2 separate regions of the Homo sapiens genome follow, and region 2 is linked to region 1. Evidence: promoter capture Hi-C in 16 types of primary human blood cells and fetal thymus (Javierre and others, 2016). All regions are on one chromosome and are shown on one strand. The core of a region is centred on a gene start or on the middle of the fragment in contact, and the rest is flanking DNA. Distances in the headings are between cores, read along the strand shown. Region 1 holds the start of UBE2J1 (ubiquitin conjugating enzyme E2 J1). Region 2 has its middle 110 kb from the start of MAP3K7.

Region 1 (6,768 bases), core at 3,967-6,466:
TGAGAGATGTATAAAGGGTCAGAATTGTTATAAGAATGTATCTGTACCAATCCTGTAAAGGAACAATCATTGGTTCAACAGCTAAATAGCTAATTAGTTCATAAGTCACTCAGGCACATACCATGTAAGAGCTAAGGTCATGTAGCCAAAAGGTGAGATTAGTCTCTTGTTTCCATAAGCTATTTTTTTTGCAAAAATAACATATATTATGAATGCTTCAGTGAAAAGAAACAGGGACTCGATTTAGAGCTGCATTAAAATTCTGACTCTGACATTTTGTAGCTCTAAGTCCTTGAACAAGTCACTTGATCTGATGTTTACATCTGTCAAATAAGAGTCAATAATTTCTCCACAAAATTCTCCTTTCCTTTTCACCCCTCCTTCCTGCCCAGTCCCTGAGTCATTAAGGTTGAAAATGGACTGGTATATAAGGCCTTCTCAATGATTCTTCCTAACTCAAAACCATGCCTCAGCAGATTTCGCTGGCCTTATGATATGGCTCCCTGGCTCCTGAGGAGAAATACCACTGTTAGGAAACAGTCATGGTTCACAGTGCTGCCTGGCAACCGGGCTACAGCATAGTCTGCCCCTCCTGATACTCCATCTCTTGCTTCTACATGGCTAGAGAGGAAACTTTTATTCCAGCTCCTCTCCTATCTCTTGGAAAGGTTTTTCCATGGAATCCTTTCACTGTGGTGAGATAAGATGTGCCAGGAAAGGAAGGGGTGGCACCTGGATGCCTGCTCTTGTTCTTCTTTCTTATAGAGGCCACATGGACACTCTGGAGCCATGCTCTAGGTGCTGTGGGCCTAGGCATTAGCATTCTTCACACACCTTGGCTAGCTCACTAGCCTCACATTGGGGTTTGTATACAGCTAAAAATAAAGGGATCTTCTACAGGCCACTGCTTCCCATATATGGATTCCTCTTCAAAAGCAATTATCTTGATATTATCAATTCCCAAAGCATGAGTGAAATGCAGGAGACAGGTATATTAAGGAAGGCATGCTCCCTAACTGCCTCTTCCTGCTCCCATAATGAAGGTACTTAAGCAAATGCCTACAGAGTGATGTTTCTGCCCAGGAGGACCCTGCAAATGTATCAGTTCAACAAACATTTAAAGAATGTCTGAGTGTTGGAGATAAAACAATGACCAAGACCTGCTTCTTGTCTTCCGTAACAGTCAGTAGAGAAAGACATGAAAATAATTACAACCAAGTGGTAATATTGACCAAGTATATATGTACAAGTATATATAGGAACTACTTTAGTCTGCCTAGGGGAGCTAGACAAGGCTGAACCTTAAAGCTTGAAGAACTATAGGAATTTCAGATGGATTTAAAGGAAGGCATTCTAAGCAGAGGTTCCAACAGGAACCAAAGCACCTAAGTGAGAAAAGCTACTCCAGCTAGAGAGTCATTCAGGCAAAATGGATAGGTAAAAACGCAGGCCTGGTGCAGTGGCTCTCACCTGTAATCTCACCACTTTGGGAAGCCAAGGTGGAGGGAACACTTGAGCTCAGGCGTTTGAGACCAGCCTGGGCAACATGGTGAAACCCTCGTCTCTACAAAAAATACACAAATTAGCTGGGTGTGGTGGCACACACCTGTGGTCCCTGCTACTCGGGAGGCAGAGGTGGAAGAATCACTTCAGCCCAGGAGGTTGAGGCTGTAGTGAGCTGTGATGGCACCACTGCACTCCAGGCTGGGAGACCCTGCCTCAAAAAAAAAGAAAATGAGGAAGAGCATAAGAGTGGTGGACAGTGAGGCTGGTGAGGAAGGGCAGGGTCAATCATGAGCAGCCCTGTAGGCCAAGCTAAGCAGTTTACTTTGAACTTTATTGACAGCTATCAGAAAGCTACTGAAAATTTTTCAATTTGGGGGTAATCAGTTTTTGTTTTGATTGATCTGGTGACAACAGTGACTGATTAGATATATGTGTTTCTGTGTGTGTATTGAGTTGTGTGTTTCAGGGCAGGGATGGAGCAAGGAAGCGACCAAGAAATAAAAAATGACTCCCATAGGTGCCTGAGTGCTGTCTATCCCTGAGATATGAAATACTAGGGTAAACTGCAAGTTTAGGGGAGGAGAAGAAAACTGATGAGTTTTGTCTTTATACTTACAGAGATTTTTTTCACTCTATGGGAAATGAAGATGTTGAGTCACCATAAGTTCTGTGTATCTATAGCTTACGAGAAGGGCCTGAGTTGGACATGAAACCTTGAGTGGATTAGTGGGAAGGTGCAGTTGACACCAATGGCATGGATAGGTAACTCTTAGACTTCTGGTGGAGGCAGTGGGTACTTTTGCACCAGTCTCTTATACTCCCACCACCTGCTGCACATGTCAATGGCCCCCTGATGAAGAAGCTGCCAAAGGAGGTGCTTTATACACATTTCTTCACTTTGTACTATAAGACCCTACTTCCTTGGCCAGAGCAGACCCAAACACGGGTCAAGTAGCTTGATCCATAGACAACTATTGACAGATTATAGACAAGTAGCATGATCCATAGACAACTACTGCTACTACAGTAGCAGATCCATAGACAACTACTGACAACTACCACAGACAACTACTGTGAGGTGATCCTACACAACAGCTCTATCCATAATCACAAGTCCATTCCAAAAAAAAACCATAAAGCAAAAAGTTTCCCCACCTATGAAATGAAAAAATTTACTATATCCACATGCTAGTACACTGGCCCTTAACCAGCTATCTGTATTGTCTTCACTTAATCTTTCCACTCATACATCAAAGACAATCCCACATCAGATAAAGAGTAAAAGATTATATCCCTCACATTGTGTGGTTGTTTTTTGTTTGTCTGGTATGTTGGTATTTTACGTGTGTGTGTGTGTGCACCCTGCCATACACAGGAAATTGGAGTTTTCAGTTGCTCCCCTTCACACAGGCATTACTCTAAAAATACCACAGGACTGAGAATAAAGCAAAGGAAGGAAGTATTTTCACAATGCCTCCCAGCATTTTCAGTAAGTCCCATATCTTACCTAATTCAACTTCTCCATGAACTCCAAATAATTCACACACTAACAAAAATAGATTTTTAAGAAGCATTGTGTTTTTTTTTTTAGAGCAGCAACACTATCTTTGAGGAAATGAAACCAGAAAAAGGAAGCAATTTATGACACAGCTAGAAGCATGTCAACCAAAGCTCAACCAGCTGACAATAGTTCACATACTTTGGAAATATACAAAATTCTGGAGATTTTTAAAAGCTTATCATCATAGTATTAAGTCTAACCTATCGAAATTGAGCGATGTTTTCTGACAACAATCTCTTGGGTTCCACCAGTTCTCCATTCTAAACTGCACTACTACTCACATGTGCATTATCCTCTGGACCTTTCACTAAGCACCTCTGCTGTCCTAAGGAACCGTGTGACCAGGGAGCCACCATACATTTTTACCCAAACAGCTCCAGTTAAATATACCACAATGTAAATAATTCAATCATTTTACCATCTAGCTTAAAAATTAAGCTTTTCTTTCCCTCTTTCTCTTTGGTCTTTTCTTCCTCCCTCCCCACCCCGGGATTCTCTTTTTTTTTTTTTTTTTTTTTTTTTTTTTTGAGATGGAGTCTCGCTCTGTCGCCCACACTGGAGTGCAGTGGCGCGATCTCGGCTCACTGCAACCTCCTCCCCGGGTCAAGCCATCCTCCTGCCTCAGCCTCCCGAGTGGCTGGAACTACAGGAGTGCGCCACCACCATGCCCGGCTGATTTTTGTGTTTTTAGTAGAGACGGGGTTTCACCATGTTGGCCAGGCTGCTCTCCACCTCCTGGGCTCAAGCCTCCCAAAGTGCTGGGATTACAAGCGTGTGCCACCGTGCCAGGTCTTCATCAGATTTTTTTAAGGAGTCAGTGGCTCCTAAAATATTATGACCAGTTCTACACACTTGGTCACCTAAGGACATTTCTTAGCCTGACAGCACTCAGGCTAACAAAGCTCCCTCCAATCAATATCCTCAGGCTTTTCTGGGGTTTTTGCATATTCTGAAACCTTACAAAAAACCCAAAGATTCACAGTGTCAACTCTTTCCACAAGGATGCTAGTCTTGCTAATTCCTACTGAGAAACAGCTTTTTTTGGAAGGAAATTTTAAGCAACAGCAAAAGTTGGTGAAATCATCACTAATATCCTAGAGTTTATCATGCAGAGTTAACTGTGGAGTTTCTTCCCCCTGACAAAATGTATCAAGGTACAGATAGAAAAAATACCATTTAGAGGATCCAATGATTCATTTCAAGCCTGTTTTATTAAGCTGAGAAAGCTAGTTGCTTATCTTTATAATGCACCAGAAAGTAATTAGAGGCTAGGATTGCTGGGACTGCTTGTGTAAATATAAAGCAGGATCATTAAATGCAGGAAAGGAATCGCTACGACTGAATACAGATACATTTCATATTAGCCAGTCTGGCAAAAATCAAGGTTAGCTCTCAAGAACAGGGCTCAACGAGGTGTTTTTTTGTTGTTGTTTTGTTTTGCTTTAGCTCTATAGTTAACTGGTTTAGTTACAGAACATTTCCTTTATGTCTGTAATTGTATTCGCCCAAGTGCTGCAAATAGGATATTTAAACGACCAACTCCTCAAATGTGAGTAAATCAGCCGGCAGTAAATAGAAGTAAATAGAAGTCCGGTGGCAGCGACAGGGAGGGAATAGCGACCAGGTACAGCGAGGGGGTTGATGACTATCGCCCACCGACATCACCTTTACACCTGTTCTCAGGGATGAGTTTCTGACCCAGCTCTACGGGACCAGGCGAAGATGAGAAAAGGGAGAGGCTGGGTGCTGCGGGGCGCGCTGGCCGGCCGGGGGATTGGCAGCGGACGTCCACCCGGCCACCTCGCCCTGCGGCCTGTACTTCCCGGGCAGGCGGCGGTCTCGCGTAGAGCGCGAAACCAGGAGCTGAGCCGCGAGTGGCGCCAGACGCGAGGGGACCGAGGCGGCGACCACCCCGGGGTCCAGGGTCACTCCGCCCTCCTCGCCCAGGGGCCCCAGCCCTGCTCACCCGGACTCTTCAGGTTGTAGCGGGTCTCCATGGTGGGTCGCTGGCTTGGCTCCGGCCTCCCGGGCCGCTGCCACCTCCTCTCCACGCGGCCGCTGCCCGGGTCTCAGCGCGGCTCGGGCGGACGGGGCCTGGCCGAGGAGCCTCGGCAAATGCCGCCCAGTCCAGCCTGGACTGCGGGCGGGGTGGCAAGGCTGAGTGCGGGCGAGGCGCTCGCTTCGCGATGGCGCCGCCTCCTCCACTGCGCCCCCGCCTCCCTGAGTGCCTGGCAGGCACCGGCGCCGGCCGGGGCGGCGCTGAACCGGGCGCCCGGGCTGGAGGTCAGCCTCCTCGGGTAGTCGCAGGCCCAGCCCTGCCGCGGCCGCCCGGCTTGCGTCACCCGCCCTCGTCCGGGATTTGTGAAGTTGCCCTGACGTGGCAGTAGCTTCGTGGCGGTCGGTCACTACCCAGCCGCCGCCCGCCCGGCGAAGCCGGCTTGGGGAGGTGCAGGAGCGAGCGGCGTCCTCGTCCTCTCGTCCCGGCCCTGCCCGCTGTAGGCGAGGTCCGGGACCCCCGGGCCCTCGAGAGCTCGGAGGGGGCGCCGGGCTCCGGCTGCAAAGCTGTCCGCAGCCGGCTGCCCGCGCGCGGTCCCGCAGGGTCTGGGAAAGGCTTTGTTTTTAGATTCAGTTGCTGTTGCGAGGGGCGGGGGTTAAGTGAGGAGGGGGAAAGCCAGTGACAAGGAAATGGAATAGGATTTTTTTTATTTTTTATTTTGTGTGTGTGTGTGACGGTGTCACCGCTCTGTCGCCCAGGCTGGGATGCAGTGGCGCGATCTTGGCTCACTGCAGCCTCTACCTCCCGGGCCCAAGCGATCCTCCCACCTCAGCCTCCAGCGTGGCTGGGACCACAGGTGTGTGCCACCATGCCCGGTTAATTTTTTGTATTTTTGTTAGAGACACGGTTTCACCGTGTTGGCCAGGCTCGTCTCGAACTCCTGGACTCAAGCGATCCGCCCGCCTCGGCCTTCCAAAGTGCTGGGGTTACAGGCGTGAGCCACGGCTCTGGCCAGAGTTGGATATTCATAACAATTTTTTTCTCGGGTAGTGTGTTAGGTGCACGACATGTTTTAGGCATTGCAGGAGTTTTGTTTTTTTTGGTTTGTTTAGATGTAAAAGCTGTCAAAAAAAGGAATTACATTTAATGTGAGGGAAAGCATACAAATATGAAAGGTTAAACTTCAAAGGACACACTTACTGCTTCATTGTCCAATGTGTGGGATCGAGAGAGGACTGAGTTCAAAAGACTTAAGGAGTAGGGACCTTACTAAAGGAAAGGAGGGAGGGATTGGGAAGGTGGGGAGGATAGAAAGGGTTAATCAGGTTGGGCAAGTTTTATTCTGTTATATAAAGACATAAACTCTTAAATTTGATTTGTTTTCTATTGTTAAAGTTAATCTAAATCTGTGAGTTTCTTGATGAAATTGGGAGTAAAAAAGTGAAGGATATCTAAAATTAGATGGTATATTTTAAATCATTCCCTGATGTTGTTTTCTGTATAGTAAACTGATAATCTGACTGACTGAGATATGCAAACAAAACCAAACTCCAATGCTGCTTCATTCATTCATTGTGTTGAATCTTCAGATTAACTGACACTTGACACCCTCTCCTGCCACAGCTCTACAAAAGCCCCTAATTTGTGCAGTAGGCCCTACCACAGCAAGGCCTGCAAAGCAGGTGCTGTATATAATGCGTTCCTA
Region 2 (6,655 bases), core at 3,755-6,254, 1.1 Mb after region 1:
ATCCAAATGCACCAGCAAACCAGGTCATAAAGGAGATGACAGAAGGCACCTGTGCACTAAGGCAGTGGCACATGACAGTAACATTTCCTTCTGCAGCAAATACATGAACCTTTAGTCAGCTTGTTTTGACCACAGTTAGAAAATATTACCAGTGTAGTGACCACAAATGGTATTTGAAAACATCACGACGGTTTGGAGATCCACCTCCCACATATTTATACAGCCTGTCCTCCACCTCCTACATAAAACTACTTTTCTTTTGTTTGACATTCTTTTTTGAAATAACGTTTGAAATCGTTCAAAGTCATGAACTTGGAGGTGAGTAGGTCTAGCTGAAAATCTATATTTAGCTTTGCAGCAGGCTTGTAAAAACTTGTTTTTATTTTGATTGTTGTGGGTTTGCACCCCTGGAGTTTCATTTTGACTTTTAGGGTTAAGTAAGTTTCAAAATGAAATGCATCCAGTTGTCAAATTTTCCCCCAGGTTTTAAGTTTTAAAACGGAGGTCTCTCTTATTTCGTATTAGTTTTTTTCCCCTAAATTCCTCTCCTCTCCCTCTGGTACCCTGATAATCTCCTTCCTCCTATAAGTGTAATCCTTTTCTCTTGCCTCCTTATTACCTTGGGAAACAATAAGTAGAGGCCAGAGGAACACCCTTGTTTTAGGTGTCAAAGAGCTGAGCTCATATTCTTGCTACTGGGTGGTGAAGGAAACTTGAGATTGCTGCCTCAGTTTCCCCTTTGGAAAAAGGGGATGCAAATAAGAGCTCCCCTCTATTTCTTAAAGGTGCCATGACTGGAAAACCAAGTTGAACTTGACTGAAAATTAAGGAACAACATTCCTCCTAAGTACAAACTGTCACGATGGTGAAGGATTCATTACCCAATGACTTCCATAAGTATTTGCAGCCTCAGGCCCTGGCACTGGAAGCTACAAATAGGATTCCTGCTACCCAAGGAAGGTATAGCCTCAGATAGGTAGGTACTCTGATTGGCAAAGAGAAGAATAAATTATTAAGCCAGTCTGCGAAGCCATAATAAGGTGAATGAGCTAATGGCACTCTATATTTCTTCCATTATCACATTGTATAGGGACTTTTTAAATGTCTGTTAAACATGAGGCAAGATGTTTCATAAACTAAAGCTACATTCAGCTTGTATTCATTTCGTATTGCTGTCGTAACAAGTTACCATAAACACAGTGACTTTAAGTACACACAAATTCACTATCTTATGGTTCACACAAATTCACTATCTTACGGTTCTGGAAGTTGGAATTCCAAGATCAGTTTTACTGGGTCAAAATCAAGGTGTTAGCAGGGCTGTGTTCCTTCTGGAGGCTCCAGAGGAGAATCTGTGTCCTGGCCTTTCCCAGGGGCTACAGGCTGCCTGTATTCCTTGGATCGTGGTCCTCAGCTCTCTAACCCATATTCCTGCCTCCCTCTCAGAAGAATCTTTGTGATTACATCAGGCCTGCCTGGATAATCCAGGATAATTGTCTCATCTCAAGATCCTTAACCCAATCACACTTGCAAAATCCCTTTTGCCATGTAAGCTAACATATTCAGAGGTTCTGGGGATTGAGATATAAACATCTTTGGAGGACTCAATATTCAGCCTAGACAAGCTATGAAAGCATGGACTTGATCTGCCTTGCTCACTGTTGATCCTAGTACTTGGCACAAACCTTCTTCATAGTAGGCACTTGATTAATGTAAATAGAATGAATGAAAGGAATAGATTATGTCTGGTTTTGGCAGTTCGGTACATTAGATGCTTATTGTGTACCTACTATGAGCCACACCCATAGGGGTGCAGAGCTGTCCTGGAGCATACAGTCTGACTGGCAGACAGTCAAGGAGAAAACTGAAACAAGTAAAAGTAAATCCTGGTGTCCAGAAGCCCAGGAGAGCCAGGGCGTCATAACAATTCTGTTTGCACTCTTGGAATTTCTTTCTGTACCGGTTGGCTGCTGCCTTCTCTAAGAATTCTTTGAACACATCCCCTTGGCAAATGTGATTAATGATATTTAGATTTATTTACTTCTGTTTTTTTTTTTTTTTCTGATGTGCTAAGGGTCTGTACTGGAGAATCATTAAAAGAATTAACAATTAAGTTTCTGCAGAACCTCCTCATCCCCACCCTCTGCCCAGCATAGGGAAAGCTCAGGTGGCTGGAAGGAGGTCAGAACCAAAGTTCAGAAATACAGAAAAGCTTAAAGGGATTTCCTGAGCTAGCCTGGGAACCTAAGCACTGTCATTCACTGGTTTTAAGTGTGAATGTGTTTCAAATTTCAAATAGTAGCAATACACTTGGCATTTCAGAACATAACTGCTAGCAAGTTATATGCTGCCTGCTTGTGCACCAAGGTCCAAAAACTGCTTCTCTGTGTTTCAATTGAAGATGACTCAGGTGAATTACAGAACACCACATGGTTGAAATTCCTTTTATATGTGGTCTTCTGGGTTTCAGAAGGGCTGTCCACATGCAGGCCTTCTAAAGAGCCAACCACCAGTTTCCTGTATACCCCAGCCTTGGGGCTTTTTGCCATCTCTCTGCTTTGTTATTAAACAGTCAGAAGTGGGCTGGGGGTGGTGGCTCACGCCTGTAATCCCAGCACTTTGGGAGGCTGAGGTGGTTGGATCACTTGAGGCCAGGAGTTCAAGACAAGCCTGGCCAACGGGGCAAAACCCTATCTTTACTAAAAATACAAAAATTAGCTGGGTGTGGTGGCAGGTGCCTGTAATCCCAGCTACTCAGGAGGCTGAGGCAGGAGAATTGCTTGAAGCTGGGAGGCAGAGGTTGCAGTGAGCTGAGATCACGCCACTGCACACCAGCCTGGGCGACAGAACGAGACTCCACCTAAAAAAAAAAAGTTAACAGTGAGAAATGGAGTCCCCTTTGTCTGGACGGGGAGCGGCTGGCTGGGAGGAGGATGTCAATGGGAGACCGAGGGGAGACAGCTGCAGAGACTGCAGCAGCCTTGGAGGGCAGGACAGAGGTGGACGTGGGAGCACTAGTGGACAGGCCATGTGTACATGGAGGATACTCAAAAGGCAAGGACTGCCTGACACTTGCAAACCCGCACCACCCCCCTCCTGCCTCTAGGGTGCCAGGCTCTTGAAGAAATATATACTTACCCATTTTTGAAAGGTTGACGGGTCTTCTGAGCGTTTGAAGGGGTATTTTCTGTTGTTCAATTGTGAACATATTTGGTTGCAGTTTTGAAGGCTTTTCCTCTAGAACTTTTCATGTCCTATTAGCTGATAACACTCCTGAGCATGAATGTCTCTGTGCTACTGCCCTCTAGGTGTGTTGGAAAAAATAGAGTGCTAATCCCACGCACCTGCTTTCAATTCGGCCCACATGAGTCTGGTGCCAGAGGTTTGTTCACTCTGAATATTTCTACGCAATCTTCAAAACCTGCATTTTTTTACGCTAACACATCTCTGCTGTCAGCATCTTAATGTACACACACACACACACACACACACACACACACACACACACACACGTCGGGGCTCCATAGTCCTACCATTTGTGTTCTCAAAGGGAAGAGTTGGCGAGGGTGAGCTAGGATGACCACTAGATGACAGTATATAAAACACCTCTTAGGTGCTCAGGTGAACGAAGTTTGAATACTGCCCAGAGCTGCGATTCCCAGATTCTGATCTGTAAAATTTTTTAAAAAGGAAAAGAAGGCCCAGTGCCTGTAATACCAGCACTTTGGGAGGTTAAAGTGGAATAATTGCTTGAGTACAATTCGAGACCAGTCATAGTGAGACCCCATCTCTACAAAAAAGAAAAAATTAGCCAGGTGTGGTGGCACACACCTGTAGGCCCAGCTTCTTGGGAGGCTGAGGTGGGAGGATTGATTGAGCCTGGAGGTTGTGGCTGCAGTGAGCCGTGATCACACTGCGTGGGCAACAAAACAAGACTCTGGGCATTCCAGCTTGGGCAACGAAATGACACCCTGCCTTAAAAAAAGAAAAAGAAAACGAAAACAGGAGAGAGCCATTGGCTTGCCAAGTTTTTATCTTGCCAGGGGACATCATTAGATATAAATCAACTTCCATTCCTCCCTAAGAGAAACATTTTAGTCATGAAGAAATAGGAAGGACAGAATCTCAAAACAAGAAATTATCTTGTAAATCTCAAAGTAGCTTTATGAAAAACTTACCACATTGTTCTTTTGTGCTCATTTTGATGCAGACCAGTGAAAGAATCATCATGAACAAGCATTTGGGAAATAAACCTAGAGGAAGATTTATAATTCCAGGTTGTGTTTCCATGAGTGGAATTAAGATAATCGATCTTGCACTATGTTATCTTCAAAATGAATCTAAGAGCTAAGTAAAGTTTCAATCCAGAGACACAAAGAAGAAACAGGGGTTGACATTTGATAAAACTCATGCTATAGTCTGAATGTCCCCCAAATTCATGTGTTGAAACTTAATCTGCACTGCATTGTCTTAAGAGGTGGGGCCTTTGGGAAGTGTTTAAGTAGTGAGGGCTCCACCCTCATGAAGGGTTTAGTGCCTTGTAAGAGGGTTGGAAGGAGCCAGCTTAGACTCCTCTGTTGCTCTTCCACCAGGTGACAACACCTAGATGGCCTCATCTATGAGGAAGGAATGAGCCTTCATCAGACACTGAACCTGCCAGCACCTTGATCTTGGACTTCCTAACCTCCAGAACTGGGAGAAATAAATTCCTTTTCTTTATAAATTACCCAGTCTCAGGTATTTTGTTATAGCAGCCGAAATGGACTAGGACACTCACTAAGATGAGGCAAGCACACAGGAATCGCTGCATATGTACTGGGTGTGTTGCTGAGCCACCCCTCCCCCCGCTTCATCTGGGCCATCTCAGCCTTCTGTTTGTCAGGAACAAAACTGATGATTGCTAAGCCTCCTTGGCCCTAGGGATGGGGCTGTTGAGCTGAACCTCCGCTGAACCAGGCCTGTAGGAACTGCATTCAGGTCCCAGGCTGGTAGGGAGGGTCAGCTCAGGCTCTCCCTCCTGCCATCTTGCTTGACCTCACCAAAGAATTCTGAACCAGAACATGGGTGTGCAACCTTCTGTGGCAGAGATGGGAGAAGTGAGATGCTATGCCCTGTTAAACAATGTGCTAAACACTAATATCACGAGTCAAATTCTAACTTTCAATTAGAGAGCCCTGATTTCAAATTCTGGGGCTTGGGCAAGTCACTTCACCTTTCTAATATTCAGCCTTCTTGTTTGAAAATAGGGCCATTCGTAACACCTACCTCTCATAGCCATTGTGAGATTAAATGAGGTAATCTACATAAAGTATATAATGTAGCACTTACTGTGTGTTCAATGTGCATTAACTAATATTAATAACATTGGTGCAGGGTGCTCCTTTCTAGAGGCAAGCAGGCTGGATGATCCTAAAAGATGCTTTGAGATGCGTGCTAAACATCATGTTTTGGAAGAAATTTGCTGCCAGTAAATCCCTACCTCTGAGTCTCTGGTTTCGTTTTAACAGCTCGTACTCTACAGGTGGTCACAACGCGGAAGGGATTGGAGTGTTTGCAGCCTGGGGAGTTGCTTCTGTAGTTGAGGAGATCTGGAGTGTCGCCTTCTGGATCCGAGTGGCCCTGCTTATTCATAAGGATGGAAATGACTTGGTATTTAAACAGTGGGGAGTCCAGTTAAGCTCTTCTCTCATTGACTATATTCAAGATCCCATAGTAGGTATCTCCCCAGCAAAACTACACAGCCTCTGGTGAGGCTGGAGAGCACAGAGAAAACTCCAGATTACCAAACACACTGACAGTGACACCACACCCTGGAGCTGTGCGGTGACTCACCCTGCCTGGGTAGGAAAACTCTCCCGTCACTGCTGTGAGCAGGCAACGTTAAGGGGTCCTTGGAAGGCTGTGCTTGTACTGCCATCTAGTGGTTTAAAAAAGTACGGCTCGCTTTGGGAAGGGTCCTGGATCCCGTAGTCCGAGCTGTGCAGTCAATCACTAAGCACTAGCATCTTCCTCATGAAAATTTAGTAAGATGAATATTTTATTGAAAACTTGGCATGCTAATTTCCTAATTTAATTTCATCATTCCCCCCACAAAGCACTGAAAAGTTTGTGAGAGTCAAAATAGAGTGAAGAGCACCAGCCTAGGAGTTCGAAGGCTCCTTTGAGTGACAACTCCCAATATAACTTGGAGGAAGTGGCTTAAACCTTCTGTTTTCTCTAGGAAAAAAAATGGAAGTTAATTCCCCAAGTGTACCTCTCAGTAAATGGCTGGGAGGTTGAAATGTGGAGCCACTTGTTCTCCTCTTTCTAACATGCTGCTTCCCTGGCCCCATGTTCTCTGGCTTCTAAGCACACGTTCTTTGCATTTCTTTTTAATTTCTGAATTTCAGGGAAGTAGTCTTTATCTATGGAGACCCTTTGGTTTCGGAATGTGGGTTTTTCCCTTGAATCAACTGCCCCAAGAATATCAAACAACGCTTACATGGGCCTGTTCTCTGTGGGTGCTTTTCTCCTTGACATAGCAACAGTTACACCAGCTCTACCCCAAAATGTGCCAAGGTCTTGATACACAAAATTTGGGTGTTGTGTTGAAGTGATAGGTTCAAGATCCTAAGGGTCAATAGTCTGTAAACCTACTGTTAGGGAATTTTAAACT

What was found. The method cuts DNA at HindIII sites, captures the fragments that hold promoters and counts their contacts. A CHiCAGO score of 5 or more calls a contact.
Region 2: a contact is called between a fragment that was not itself captured here and the fragment with the promoter of UBE2J1 in region 1, in 1 of 17 cell types (fetal thymus). The highest score is 5.6, in fetal thymus.

Annotation. Positions count from the first base shown.
Region 1 is chr6:89,347,506-89,354,273 of GRCh38, forward strand. UBE2J1 (ubiquitin conjugating enzyme E2 J1) reads right to left here and starts at 5,217. Exons shown (of 8, transcript NM_016021.3): 1 at 5,034-5,217. The coding sequence starts at 5,064. RefSeq lists an enhancer at 4,523-5,472 and silencers at 4,769-4,828, 4,859-5,568, 5,579-5,678. The HindIII fragment of the contact is 3,504 bases long and covers 3,504-6,768 here.
Region 2 is chr6:90,473,595-90,480,249 of GRCh38, forward strand. No RefSeq gene overlaps it. Among named protein-coding and RNA genes, the nearest start is that of MAP3K7, 110 kb to the right of the region's middle. RefSeq lists a silencer at 5,894-6,003. The HindIII fragment of the contact is 5,588 bases long and covers 2,211-6,655 here.